Regions from separate parts of the Homo sapiens genome. Here region 2 is linked to region 1. Evidence: promoter capture Hi-C in human tissues and cell types (Jung and others, 2019). All regions are on one chromosome and are shown on one strand. The core of a region is centred on a gene start or on the middle of the fragment in contact, and the rest is flanking DNA. Distances in the headings are between cores, read along the strand shown. Region 1 holds the start of RHD (Rh blood group D antigen). Region 2 overlaps MACO1 (macoilin 1).

The links. Contacts are between HindIII fragments. The study calls those that stand out against the background at their distance.
Region 2: a contact is called between a fragment that was not itself captured here and the fragment with the promoter of RHD in region 1, in 1 of the 25 tissues and cell types used here (dorsolateral prefrontal cortex).

The regions. Positions count from the first base shown.
Region 1 is chr1:25,269,856-25,276,742 of GRCh38, forward strand. It overlaps RHD (Rh blood group D antigen), which reads left to right and starts at 2,654. Exons shown (of 10, transcript NM_016124.6): 1 at 2,654-2,840. The coding sequence starts at 2,693. LOC105376882 (a long non-coding RNA gene) reads right to left here and starts at 4,769. Exons shown (of 2, transcript XR_947099.3): 1 at 4,637-4,769; 2 at 1-277. It also overlaps a transcript of RSRP1 not described here. The HindIII fragment of the contact is 5,221 bases long and covers 1-3,315 here.
Region 2 is chr1:25,433,985-25,440,871 of GRCh38, forward strand. All of the region lies in intron 1 of MACO1 (macoilin 1), which reads left to right. Among named protein-coding and RNA genes, the nearest start is that of MACO1, 6.5 kb to the left of the region's middle. RefSeq lists an enhancer at 1,845-1,934. The HindIII fragment of the contact is 4,093 bases long and covers 1,673-5,765 here.

The sequences.
Region 1 (6,887 bases), core at 1,404-3,903:
GGATCAGGACGCACAGGGATTTGGAGTGCCTTGGAACCAACCACCACCCACGCCGTTTGCCAGCTGGTAAACATGCCCATCAGGTCCGGGGGTTGGCATTGCCTGGACATCTTTAGTGTTCATCTTGCTGACATCTGGTGCCCTCGGGCAGGTAGGTGCAGTTGGCTGCCTGGTTTACAGAGCTTGTACTGGGCCCAGGTTAGCAGAGGTCACATCCATTTATCCCACTGCGCAGAGGAGTTCCTTCTCAGGAAACCCAGTTTATAAGAAGTACTGACTGCCAGAAATAGAGCAGAAATGAGAACCAGGAGGCAATTGTGAGAGGAATGGAGACTTCTGACCTCTGGGGATTGGGGTACCCTCCCCCTTAATTGCTGTTGGGGTAGCAGAGGGCTTAGAAGCCCATGTTCCTAGACTTTTAGAATTGGAAGAAGACTTAGAAGTAATCTAGGCTGGGGGTCCCCAACCCCCAGGCTGTGGCCCGTTAGGAACCTGACCGCACAGCATGAGGGATAGGCCAGCGAGCACTACCGCCTGAGCTCCGCCTCCTGTCAGATCAGCAGCGGCATTAGATTCTCATAGGGGCACAAACCCTATTGGGAACCGCGCATGAGAGGGATCTAGGTTGCGTGCTCCTTAGGAGAATCTAACTAATGCCTGATGATCTGAGGTGGAACAGTTTCATCCCCAAACCATCCCTCCAACCTCACCCCGGTCCATGGAAAAATTGTCTTTTACAAAACCCGTCCCTGGTGCCAAAAAGCTTGGGGACCCCTGATCTAGGCTACAGTTAAGTGGTCAAACACCCAGGTCCTGAAGTTAGGCTGCCTGGGTTTAAATCCCAGCTCTACTGCTTACTAGCCCTGTGACCTTGAGCAAGTCACTTAGTTTTTCTGTGCCTCAGTTCACTCATTTGTAATAAATCCTAATAGTACCCATCCCAGTGTCATGAACTAAGTTCATATATGTAAAGTACTTAGAATGGTGCCTAGCAAGTACTTAATAACAGTTAGCTCTGAAAATGTATAAAGCAAAATTAACCAATGTTTTAGTGGTTTGCAGCCAACTTTTTTCTATGCGTGTGCTAACATATTATTTTATAAGAGTGGGAATATATTGTACATGCTGTTATATAACTTGCTTTTTCACTAAACAGTCTATCCTCTGTGTCAGTTTTGATAAAAGCGTTTTCCTCTTGCTTTTCCTGCATATGTTCAGAACCATCATATTGGTAGCAAGTTTCATGTCCTGTAGTTTTCTTAACCAACCCCCTGCTAGTGGACATTTAGGTTAGTCTCAGTTTTTTCCTTCTGTAAATAAAGCTGCACTGAGCAAGAAGTGACTGATGCCAAGTGACTAGATGACCTTAGGTATGACCTCTCTGGGTCTTGGTTTCTTGGTCTAAAAACAAAATGACAGGATTCGACTGGGTGATTAAAATCTCCTCTGATCTACATAGGAATTGTTTTCAAGACATTTCTGCATTCCTCTAGTGACAGGGTGCTCACTACCTCATGAGTATTTCAGTGGACAACTGTAATGGTCAATAAAGTATCCACTTTCCACCTCCCTGCAGCTCCTGGCCCTGGCTTTATTCTCTGGGGCTCCACACATTCAGTTTACACTCAGTGGCCAGTGGCTGGGACCATTGTAGAAAATAAGGAAACTCCAATTCCTTCCTTCTTTTCTTCCTCTTTCATCTCTTCCTCCCTCTCTACATCCCTCTCTCTCTTCCTTCCTTCCTCGACACTTACCATGTACCAGACCTTCTGCCAGGCACATGGATGGGAGCACAGGGGAAGTTGGCTGCAGGGTTAGAACTAAGTCCCAAGCCCCCTAAAGCTCATGCCAGGGGACTGGACTGTCCAGTACTGAGGGATGGGGATGCTGAGGCTGGTGGCCTTCCTCAAATGCACTGTAGTGCCCCAGGCAGAGTCCTGGGCTGCCCTGTGAGGAGGTGACCAGAGGTAGAGCAACTTCACCCTAAGGCTGGATCAGGATCCCCTCCAGGTTTTTACTAGAGCCAAACCCACATCTCCTTTCTCTTCTGCCACCCCCCCTTAAAATGCTTAGAAACACATAGATTTAAATACAAATTCAAATGTAAGTAATTTCAACTGTGTAACTATGAGGAGTCAGTTCTACGTGGGTCCTATCTGTATCCTCCCCAGGGCTCAGCTCCATTCTTTGCTTTCATTCATTCTCATTCAATACATTGTTGTTAAGAGCTCACTGGGTGCCCTCTCTGTCATGTAGTAAGGTTTTAAAAAGAAAGCCTCTTCTGAGCTTCAGTTTCCTTATTCATAAAATAGGAGTATTGATCCATTCCTTGCTTTTCTTACAAGGATATGCTGAAGATGACTGAAGTACAGAGTAAAGAAGGATTATGTTTGGGTGTCAAAGGAATAGAATGCCCTCTTTCAAACTGAGCACAGCAGGAACCTGTAACAGGAACACAGCAACTTGTTGAATGAATGACAATATTGGAAAACATACATTTCCTCCCCTCCCCATCATAGTCCCTCTGCTTCCGTGTTAACTCCATAGAGAGGCCAGCACAACCAGCCTTGCAGCCTGAGATAAGGCCTTTGGCGGGTGTCTCCCCTATCGCTCCCTCAAGCCCTCAAGTAGGTGTTGGAGAGAGGGGTGATGCCTGGTGCTGGTGGAACCCCTGCACAGAGACGGACACAGGATGAGCTCTAAGTACCCGCGGTCTGTCCGGCGCTGCCTGCCCCTCTGGGCCCTAACACTGGAAGCAGCTCTCATTCTCCTCTTCTATTTTTTTACCCACTATGACGCTTCCTTAGAGGATCAAAAGGGGCTCGTGGCATCCTATCAAGGTGAGAGTTCATTGGAAAAGTGGTCACAGGAGCAAATAGCAGGGGCAGGGGCGGGGGAGGCCTGTGGTTCTCCAGGGGCACAGATGTTCCTTTCTACAAAATCCCAAGGAAAAAGATTCCCCCATCTTCTTCCGTAGATTGCACCGAAATTCAGCCAACAATGTAAGCTTTCCTTTAGAAGCAGCCTGGGCATGCCCTCTTCTGTGAAGCCTGCCTTGATTTTTCAGCACAGTGAGAGGCATCCTCTTTGGTGTTCCTCAAATTCCCTCTACCAAATGGTCTTCATAATTCTCTGCTTCTCTGCTTCCCCTTCTCTCTCCTCAGTGGCAAGGAATTTTTTTATTTTTATAGATTTAGGGGATACAAGTGCAGCTATCTTATGCAAGCAATTTCATGTTGTTGGGTTTTTGGTTTTTGTTTCCTTTTTGTGGCCTCTCGCTCATTTCTTATTTCTTTTTGAGGCAGGGTCTCACTCTGTTGCCCAGGCTGAAGTGCAGTGGCATGATCATGGTTCACTGCAGCCTTGACCTCCTAGTCTCAAGCAATCTTCCCACCTCAGCCTCCCAAGAAGCTGGGACCACAGGAGGGCACCACCATGCCTGGCTAATTTTTTTTTTTTTTTTTTTTGGTAGAGATGTGGGTCTCCCTGTGTTTCCCAGACTGGTCTCAAACTCCTGGACACAAGCGATCCTCCAGCCTCAGTCTCCCAAAGTGCTGGAATTACAGGCGTGAAGCACTGTGCCCAGCTCTCTTGCTCATATCTATACTAGTTTTCTTTTGGAAGCTTCAGCCTGTTGCTACCCCCCACCCCCACCCCCACCGACCCCAGCTTTCTTCTCACTTAGGGGCTGGGAAGTCTGCATGCTGTCTATAAATCCAGAACCAGAAGGTATGGCTGAAGGGGAGGGTAGGATGATGGTTATTTTATATTCAGCTAAAAATATTCCCAGACTGTGATGAGACAACTGTAAATAAGACAGATGTCCACAATGGTGTGACTTTGCTTTTTTAAAAATATTGAAATGAGTTTCAGGCATCTCAGTGGGCTGATAGGTTGTTGATAATAGACAGGGCCTCCTTGAAGAATGTCCCTGAGACAAAGTTGAAGCTTGAGCCTGGTTGAGTCCTTGCTTGTTCCTAGGTTGATATGAACGGCTAGTTAACTGGAAGCAAAGAGAAGTCATCCTGGGGGCCATGGCAGTGACAAGTAGGACTTAGGGAGGGAAGCCCTTATACCATTTAAGGTGCTGGCCCAGAGAGGAGCCTTCAGTGACAGACAAACAAGAGCTGGCACAATTTTAATTCACTTCAATTTACTCTAATTCATTTCAATCCAATACAATTCAATGCATTCCATTCATTCAACCATGTATGACATCCAATGTGGGATCCAGACTCATGATGATTAGAGCTGATATTTATGAGCACTTACTATGTACCAGGCACTATTCTACATGCTTTACATTGAACCCTCACAATAACCCAATGAGGTGGGTACTATTATGATCTTCGTTTTTCATATGAGGAAACTAGGCATATGGATGTTGAGTAATTTGCCCACGGTCGCTCAGCTAGCAATAGCACAGCGTATTTAAATTTAGCCACCCTGGATTTAGTTTCCTTACACTTAACCATTATGCATCATGGCCCCATTTTACAGTGGGCTTGAGTCTTTGTCATATAACCCAGTAGGTTAGCAGCCACTATTCCAACCCTGTAGATTGACTCTAGGGTCCATGTTCTTTACCCCTGCACCGTGCTACTAACGTAGGTACAAAATGTCCTCAGAAACTCACTTTATACGGAAGCTCAGAGGAGGGTCCACAACCCAGGCAGGGGAGACGATGGTGTCAGGGGAGGGAGGTGACTGCCCAGCCAGGTCTTGAAGGCTCAGTAGGAATTACCTGTGGGACAAAGGAGGGTCATCCAAGTGAGGGCACAGTGGGTGCCATGGCGTGCACACACAATAGAGCAGACTGAGCCTGGGCTTAACATTGCATTGCCCTGGAGCCTAAAAGGGGAAACAAAGGGCCGGGCGACGTGGCTCACGCCTGTAATCCCGGCACATTGGGAGGCCAAGGCTGGAGAATCACCTGAGGTTAGGAGTTCGAGACCAGCCTGGCCAACATGGCAAAACCGCATCTCTACTAAAATTATAAAAACTGGCTGGGTGTGGTGGCACACGTCTATAATCCGAGCTACTTGGGAGGCCATTACACTCCAGCCTGGGCGCCAGAGTGAGACTTCATCTCAAAAAACCAAACAACAAAAACAACAACAAGAACAACAAAAAAACAAAGAGGAGAGCAGGGACTGGGTGTGGTGACTCATGCCTGTAATCCCAAACACTTTGGGAGACCAAGGCAGGCAGATCACCTGAGGTCAGGAGTTCGAGACCAGCCTGGCCAACATGGTAAAACCCTGTCTCTACTAAAAATACAAAAATTAGCCGGATGTGGTGGCACGTGCCTGTAGTCCCAGCTGCTTGGGAAGCTGAGGGAGGAGAATTGCTTGAACCCAGGAGGCAGAGGTTGCTGAGCTGAGAACATGCCACTGCACTCCACCCTGGGTGACAGAGTGGGACTCTGTCTGAAAAAAATAATAGTAATAAATAAAAATAAAGAGGGAAGCAGCGGGTGGCAGACTCACTGGGCTGCATACGAAGTTTGGCTTCAGTCTGAGGTCCGAATAGTAAACAGCAGCGAGACAAGTTTGGGTTTGGGTCATGGAGGAAGCCATGCCAGGGCTGGTGTTGGGCACAGGGAAAGGGGCATGGCTTGAGACACCAGACCAGCGTGGAGGCTGTAGTGTAGTATTGACCTGAGGACTTCAACATTCTGATGGTGTACACACGATTTTTTGAGCATGTACCATGGTTATATATTACACTTTAAGTATTACTTTAAGTATTACTACATTAATATATTTTGTATGTTACAATAAATACATACAAATTAGGAAAATTGAAAGAGATCAAAATGAAATATATAATATTTTCAAATTACTAATCATAATGGTGTCAATCTCCAGGCAGGGTCCATTGCTACAGTTGACGATAGTGGATGAAAATTCACTCCTCAGAGTCTTCTTGATAATTTGAAATTGTCTTGATTGACTTGTCAGATCTGATTAGATCAACATGTTTTAAATCTCGAATGTGACTGACAGCTTGTACGAGGAGAAGTTTCACTCTGCCTTTTCCCTTTTGTTCACTTGACTGCCATTATTTCTATGCTTCCAATCTGTGTTTTTCTGCACGAGTTGGTTAAGCCATTACTTCATTTTGTGAAAGTTTGTTGAGTTAAACTTAGGTAACTTAATCTGTCAATCCACTTAATTGAATTCAGTCCTGGTAAACTATAATAGATTATTCAAACCTGCCAATTCTAAAAAGACATTTTGAGACAATCAGGAAATCTGAATATAGCATGAATATCTTACGATATACAAGGATTATTGTTAATTTTGTTAGGTATGATAAAAGCATGGTGGGTTGTTTTTGTTTTTGTTTTTTAAGTCTCCATCTGTTAGAGAGGCACATTGAAATGGCATGATATCTGGGGTTTGCTTTTATGCCAGAAAAAAGAAAAAGTACAGAAGGATTATAGAAACAAGATTGGTCTCATGTGACAATCATCAGAGTTTGGAGATGGGCACGTAGGGTCATCGTGCTGTTCTCTCTGTTTTCGTATATGCTTTAAAAGTTCTGTAATAGTTAATTAAAAAAAAAAAAAAACACCCTGGCTGAGCATTTAGGGAGGCCAAGTGGGGAGGATCGCTTAAACCAAGGAGTTCAAGACGAGCCTAGGAAACATAGGGAGACCCCCCCCCATCTCTAAAAAAAAAAAAAAAAAAAAAAACTTTAAAATTTAACCCAGTGTGGTGGCACATGCCTATAGTCCCAGCTACTCAGTAGGCTGAGGTGAGAGGCTTGCTTGAGCCTGGGAGCTTGAGGCTGCAGTGGGACGGGATTGTACCACTTCACTCCAGCATGGGCGACAGAGCAAGACCCTGTCTCAAAAAAAATAAAAATATTTGAGGTGAAGC
Region 2 (6,887 bases), core at 2,469-4,968, 170 kb after region 1:
AATCCTGTTGTGGACTCACTTTTAAATCATGGGCTGCAGTCCAACAACTGTTACTGAGGTGACTGTCAAATGATATCATTTATTGTGAGTATCATGGCTGTCTTGGAATTCTGTTTCGGGGTGAGATGCAAGGAAAATTAATTTTAGACATTATGTTAATGTAATCTGCATTTATACATATAAAACATCATTTGAAAAGTGAAACATGCTATAGAAATATTTTAGTCCAGTTAATAATTAAAAATAGGAGAAAGGAAATAGGAATAGTGATCTTTTCATCTTACTAGGGGCTAAAGTTCGATGTAGTTTTAAAAAAATCTGACCCAGCCCAGAGCCTGACAGAGTCGACATTCAGTGTTCAATAAATGTTGAGTGAGTAAATTAATAAATGAATATAAGCTAGTCCATTTCATTCATGAAGTGCCTACGTTGTTCAGGGAATTGCGGAGGATACAGGATAACACATGGCTCATTGTCTTCAAGGAGTTTACAGTCTAGTAGGCCGTAGTAATACCATCTTAAATTTGTACAGTGGTTTAGAGTTTCCAAAGAACTTTAAGTTCTGTTCAAGTAAAAATATTTCTGTTGTGCTAAATTTTAGCTTACTGTTTTAGTGGTTCATCTGACACATTAACAGCTGTATTTTGCTCTGTGCTATTTTATGATAAAGTAGACAGTTGCCACTATATGAGGGAGTCTTTTCTATCTCAAATGAGATAGATATGAAAGTACTTTAAAAATTATGAACATAAGTTATTAAGTACCTAACTCTTATATTTCTAAGGTCCTTTGGTTTTCTGGGCTGGGTTCTCTCCTTGTGTCTGCCTAGACACATGTGCACCAGACACTCCCGATAGTAATATCTCATTGCAGGCAGTGATTTTCCAGGTGAGGTGAGGTTAGGGTACTATGTAGTTTTTAAAAGCCTTAAGGGGATTCTGTATGGTTTACCCCTACCTCTCACCCTGCCATACTTTCCACTCCCTTCCCTCAGAGAATTACTGACTTTATAATATAAAAATGAGGAGATAAGATGTGGTAAGTAGAAGAAGGAGGCAGAAACATTTATGTTTAAAGTATACATATATTCCAAATCGCTACAGTTAAATGGTTATTTATGCAAGTAAATATAATACGAATTTTAAGTAAGGTATATGTTTTAAGCTTCTGGGAATGATTTTATATCTGTGTTACTGGTGGCTGAAGGAAGTACCCTTTCACTGTGTATTTAAGACTGCTTCCTGTCTTCATGTACTGGATTCTGCTTGTAGTGCTGTGTGAAGCTTAGGCAGTGCAGTATTGTACCTGACTGTCATATTTTTGCAGCTTAATGCCTTAAAACTAGGACTAAGAACTCAGCACTGGTGTATATGTTATTATTTCCCATTTTTATTTCAGAGAAAAATTCTCTGGTCCTTGGGGCTCCTCAAAAGTGACTTTTTAAAGTGATTAAATTTTGCATTCTTCTCAACTTCCCAATTTCCTTTTTCAGACCCTTGTCTACATCTGATCTCCAGAGGTTTCATTTGACTGCTTTTTCTGCCTCCTTAATGATGTTTTCTAAGCCTAGTTTTAGACTCCTTTGGGCTATGCTTATTAAAGTCACTGCAGGCTGTCATGACCCTTGGCTGCCTTGATTGTACATGTGTTCTGCAACTGAAACCCCAGATACCTGTGTTGCAATCTCATAGCCTAAAAGCATTTTGGTAATCTTGGTAGGCTTTAACTTTAACAATCCTGGACCTGGCACGAAAGTGATAGATTCTGTATTGTTTTAGAGGAGTGTTGGGGAAGGAGAAATTGAAATGTTTTCACTAACCTGTGCAGTGAAGTGTTTATTAGCTAAACTCTTCTATTTGTGGTTTTCACAAAATACACTTTAAAAATCGGCCACACTGGGATGAAAAAGCACTTTCCTCCAACTTTCATTATGATTCTTCCTGTCTGAGCAGTCTTGGCAGTTTAGTTTCATTAGGTGTTTTGAAAATCCCTTTAAATTGCTGCTGGGTTGAGGAGGGGAACAGGAGAGAACGTGATTCACTTCACATTATTTGCTTAAAAGCTTCCTGTTTTATCATTGATAGTCTCCTTTTTCTTCACATCGATTCCTCATGGCCTCTCTTGAACCTCACTAGATTTAGAGATTGATCTTAATGGTAGGTTTAACAAATAATTATTTACATTTTCTTACTAGTTATATGCTTGTATATATCTCATGGACCCAGTCCATGTTCTGTAAGCATTTATGTTCCTAGAATCTTTTTCTTTGGCCATTTCTCCCAGATCTCCCCACTGATACTGTTAACCCTTTGGGGTTTTATGTATATAAAGTGCACTTTGTTTTATCTGTTTCTAGGCTACCATCTTGTGGAGTTTGGAGGGCAAGTAGAAATTTCACAAACATAGTTAAGTGAAATACTGTAATTAGGTTACTTTTCTTCATAAAATTTAGTGTGCTCTTCAGATATACTGATTAGTTTATCCCCAGGCTTACTAGATTTGGGCATAATTATTTTACTTGGCTCTTGCTCAAGAATTAAGTCCAGAAGAAAAAGAAGTTGGCTGTCCAGCAAGCTGCATAAGTAGGATGGTACATACAACAGTAGATACACATATCCTTGTTAGACTTTTTCCACTGTGGATTTCTTCAGATGCTTAAGTAGTGACTTTTCAAAGCCTCTCACCTTGCATCCTGGCAATGGAAGCTTGAAAAAAGTTAATCAACTTTTAGAGAATATTGAGGCTCTGTATCTTTAATTTGACATTTAACCGACATCAAATTGTCTCAGCTGATGAGCCTTCCAAGGCACTTGTCTTCCCTGGCCTTTGAAGACAGTCATAGTACTGACCTTGATTGCTTTATATTTTTTTCTCTGCTGCCTTTAAGGATGATATGCCCACTTTGAGTCATGGGATTGTGGCACCAAAAATAATGTATCCCTCACCCCATCTCCTCTGTTGCCTTCTCTTTTTCAGAGCTTTTGCATTTAGTGATTAAAATGGTGTGACTACTCCACTTTCATATATCTGTTCATATCACTGATGAGTTTGAGCTGTTTAGGACCGATCTCCCACTCAGCACAGAGGAGTGGCTAGAAATAATCTCATTCTGTTTTTGAATCATATTGTTACGTTGTTCATCTTCAAAACACTTTTTTTTTTTTTTTTGAGACAGGGTCTCATTCTGTCGCCCAGGCTGGAGTCCAGCAGCGAGATCACAGCTCACTGTATCCTTCATCTCCTGGGTTCAAGAGATCCTTACACTTCAGCTGACCGAGTAGCTGGGACCAAAGGCATATACTACCATGCCTGGCTTTTTTTTTTTTTTTTTTTTTTTGCGTTTTTGCGTTTTTATAAAGATGGAGTCTCGCCGTGTTGTATAGGCTGGTCTTGAACTCCTGGGCTCAAGTGAGCCACTCACCTTGACCTCTCAAAGTACTGGGATTATAGGCATGAGCCACCGCACCCACCCAACACTTTTAAAAACCAAATAAATAGCTGAGTACTAAAATCAGTACTTTGCCTATCTTGTAGCAAGAATAGTTGAACATTAAAGAGAATGAATACTATGTTCATGTCCAAAGTAAGGATTCCTGTCTCAGAAAAGAGAGATACTGTCTGAGGCTTGAGTCGTCTTGCTCAGATGTAATAAGAATTTTTGGCCGGGTGTGATGGCTGTAACCCCAGCACTTTGGGAGGCTAAGGCAAGAGGATTGCTTGAGTCCAGGAGTTCAAGACTAGCCTAGGTAACATAGCGAGACCTCATCTCTACTAAAATTCAAAAAAATTAGCTGGGTGTGGTGTCACATTCCTGTAGTCCCAGCTACTTGGGAGGCTGAGGCGGGAGGATCACGTGAGCCCAGGAGTTTGAGGCTGCAGTGTGCCATGATCGTGTCACTACACTCCAGCCTGGGCAATAGAGCAAGACCCTGTGTCAAAAAAAGAGAATTGGCTGGGCGTGGTGGTTAATATAATCCCAAAGTGCTGATATTATAGGCGTGAGCCACCATAATCAGCCCCCAATTTAAAGGAAAAAAAAAATCTAGAATGGAAATCGCTAAAAAAGGTTTTCACGGTTTTGTAGTATAACATTTTTATAAAGGTCTGTATAGACCACAGAGATATCAAGGACAGGTATTGTAACCTAATGCAGGTGGTGAGTTTTAGAATTTCTGTTTCAAGAATACTTTTAACAGTGTGGAGTCTATGGGGTTGAGGAAGGGGAGGGGTGAAGAAGCATAGGCGGAGAGAGAAAACAACTCACAGGCTCTAAAAAAACCTGTTAACATTATATAAACATTAGAAATTCATTTCATAAGGGAATCAAAATTATGCTTCATATAATTGATAGTAATAATCTGCTTAATCACACCTTACATTTCTGTCTTACTTGTAACTTTTCCAAATGTTTTCATATTATCTCATTTTATCCTCACAAGTGTGAAATAGGCAGAGTAGGTATTGCCATTTTATAGGAAACAAACCTGAGGAATAGAGAACTAAAAAGCTGCAAGGCACTATTGAAAGAGTACAGAAACAGAAGTTAGGAGACTGCAGAGAACAGTGTAAATTCTATGTGGAACTCTATGTTGCTGCTAAAATGGATAAGGGAAATTCTATATAAAGAAGTGGACATGACTGGGCCCCGTGGCTCACGCCTGTAATCCCAGCACTTTGGGAGGTCGAGGCGGGTGGATCACCTGAGGTCAGGAGTTCAAGACCAGCCTGGCCAACGTGGCGAAACCCCGTCTCTACTAAAAATATAAAAATTAGCTGGGCGTGGTAGCATGCGCCTGTAATCCCAGCTACTTGGGAGACTTGGGAGAACTGCTTGAACCCAGGAGGCAGAGGTTGCAGTGAGTCGAGATTGTGCCACTGCACTCCAGCCTAGGCAACAGAGTGAGACTGTCTCAAGAAAAATAAAATAAAATAAAAAACTAAAAAAAAAAGAAGTGGACATGTCAAACAGAAACCTGTTTTTGTTAAGAAAGAAACACATTTGTTTATATAGAAAAAGCAAATTATATTTATGAATTATATAACAGCAATCATCTTGGGGCAGGACTACTAAGGGCTTTTATATTATACATTATATTACCTTTTTAATAACAAGTATGTGTTGCTTCTTTTTAACTTCTCATTTTGAAATAATTTTAGATTTAATTAAACAGAAAAGTCACAAAAATAGTACAAAGTACTTACACCTTAGTGAAAGGCATAAGATACCCTATTTATTTATTTATTTATTTTTAAAGAAAAAAAATAGCCAGGCATGGTGGCTCTTGCCTGTCACCCTTGCTACTTGGGAGGCTGAGGTGGGAGGATCGCTTGAGCTCAGGAGTTGGAGGTTGCAGTGAGTTATGATCACACCACTGCGCTACAGCCTAGGAGACAGAGTAAGACTCTGTCTCTGAAAAAAATAAACAAACAAAAAAGGGCATATTTCACACTGTTAGATTTGTCATTGCAGTGGCTGCACATGTACGCGCGCGTGTGTGTGTGTGTAATTGACACTAGAAAGGTTCCCTTTGCAGTATGCAGGAGGCCTAGAATAGAAAAAAGAAATATAGAACAGCTTGGTCTTCTCAGCCTGCTCCCCTTTTTTGGATTTTATACAAGGAGGTGCCTGCAGAATGCAGCAGTGGTTCCAGTTTATTTTATGTTAAGGCTCACACACAAATTTCTGTTTTTTTTTTTTTTGTCAAAAAATTTTTTTGTCTCTGGATCTCTTTACACTCTTAAAAATGATTGAGGCTGGACACTGTGGCTCACACCTGTAATCCCAGCACTTTGGGAGGCTGAGACAGGTGGATCACTTGAGGTCAGGAGTTTGAGACCAGCCTGACCAACTTGGAGAAACCCCGTCTCTACTAAAAATGAAAAATTAGCTGGGCATGGTGGCGCATGCCTGTAATCCCAGCTACTTGGGAGGCTGAGGCAGGAGAATCACTTGAACCCAGGAGGCAGAGATTGCGGTGAGCCGAGATCGTACCATTGCATTCTAGCCTGGGCAACAAGCGAAACTCTGTCTCAAAAAAAAAAAAAAAGATTGAGAATATCACAGAGATTTGGTTTATATGGATTATATCTATCAATATTTACTGTATTAGAAATTAAAACTGGCTGGATGTGGTGGCTCATGCCTGTAGTCCCAACACTTTGGGAGGTCAAGGTAGGAGGATCACTTGAGCCCAGGATCTTGCTATGTTGACCAATCTGGGCAACATAGCAACATCCCATCTCTACAAAAAAAAAAAAAAAAAAATTAGCCAAGCATGGTGGTATGTGCCCGTAGTCCTAATTACTCTGGAGGCTGAGATAGGAGGATCACTTGAGCCCAGGTTGAGGTTGAGGCTGCAGTGAACTATGATTGTACCACTGCACTTCAGCCTGGGCAACAAAGGAAGACCCCAGTTCTGGGAAAAAAAAAAAAAAAAGAAGAAAGAAAAAAGTTAAAATAGAAAAATTTAAAACATTAGTTCACTTAAAAGTACCAATAAATTGCTGAGCACAGTGGCTCACGCCTGTAATCCCAGCACTTTGTGAGGCCAAGGCAGGCGGATCACCTGAGGTCAGGAGTTCGAGACCAGCCTGGTCAACATGGTGAAACCCCATCTCTACTAAAAATACAAAAATTAGCCAGGCATGGTGGTAGGCACCTGTAATCCCAGCTACTTGAGAGGCTGAGGTGGGAGAATCACTTGAACTGGGAGGTAGAGGTTGCAGTGAGCCAAGATTGCGCCATTGCACTCCAGCCTGGGCGACAGAGTGAGACTCCATCTCAAAAAAAAAAAAAAAAAAGAAAAGTAACAATAAATTAATAAATTCATGAGAAGACTGGTGTGGTTTTACATTTTTGCATAGCTCTTTAGTGTCTGGCTTACTAG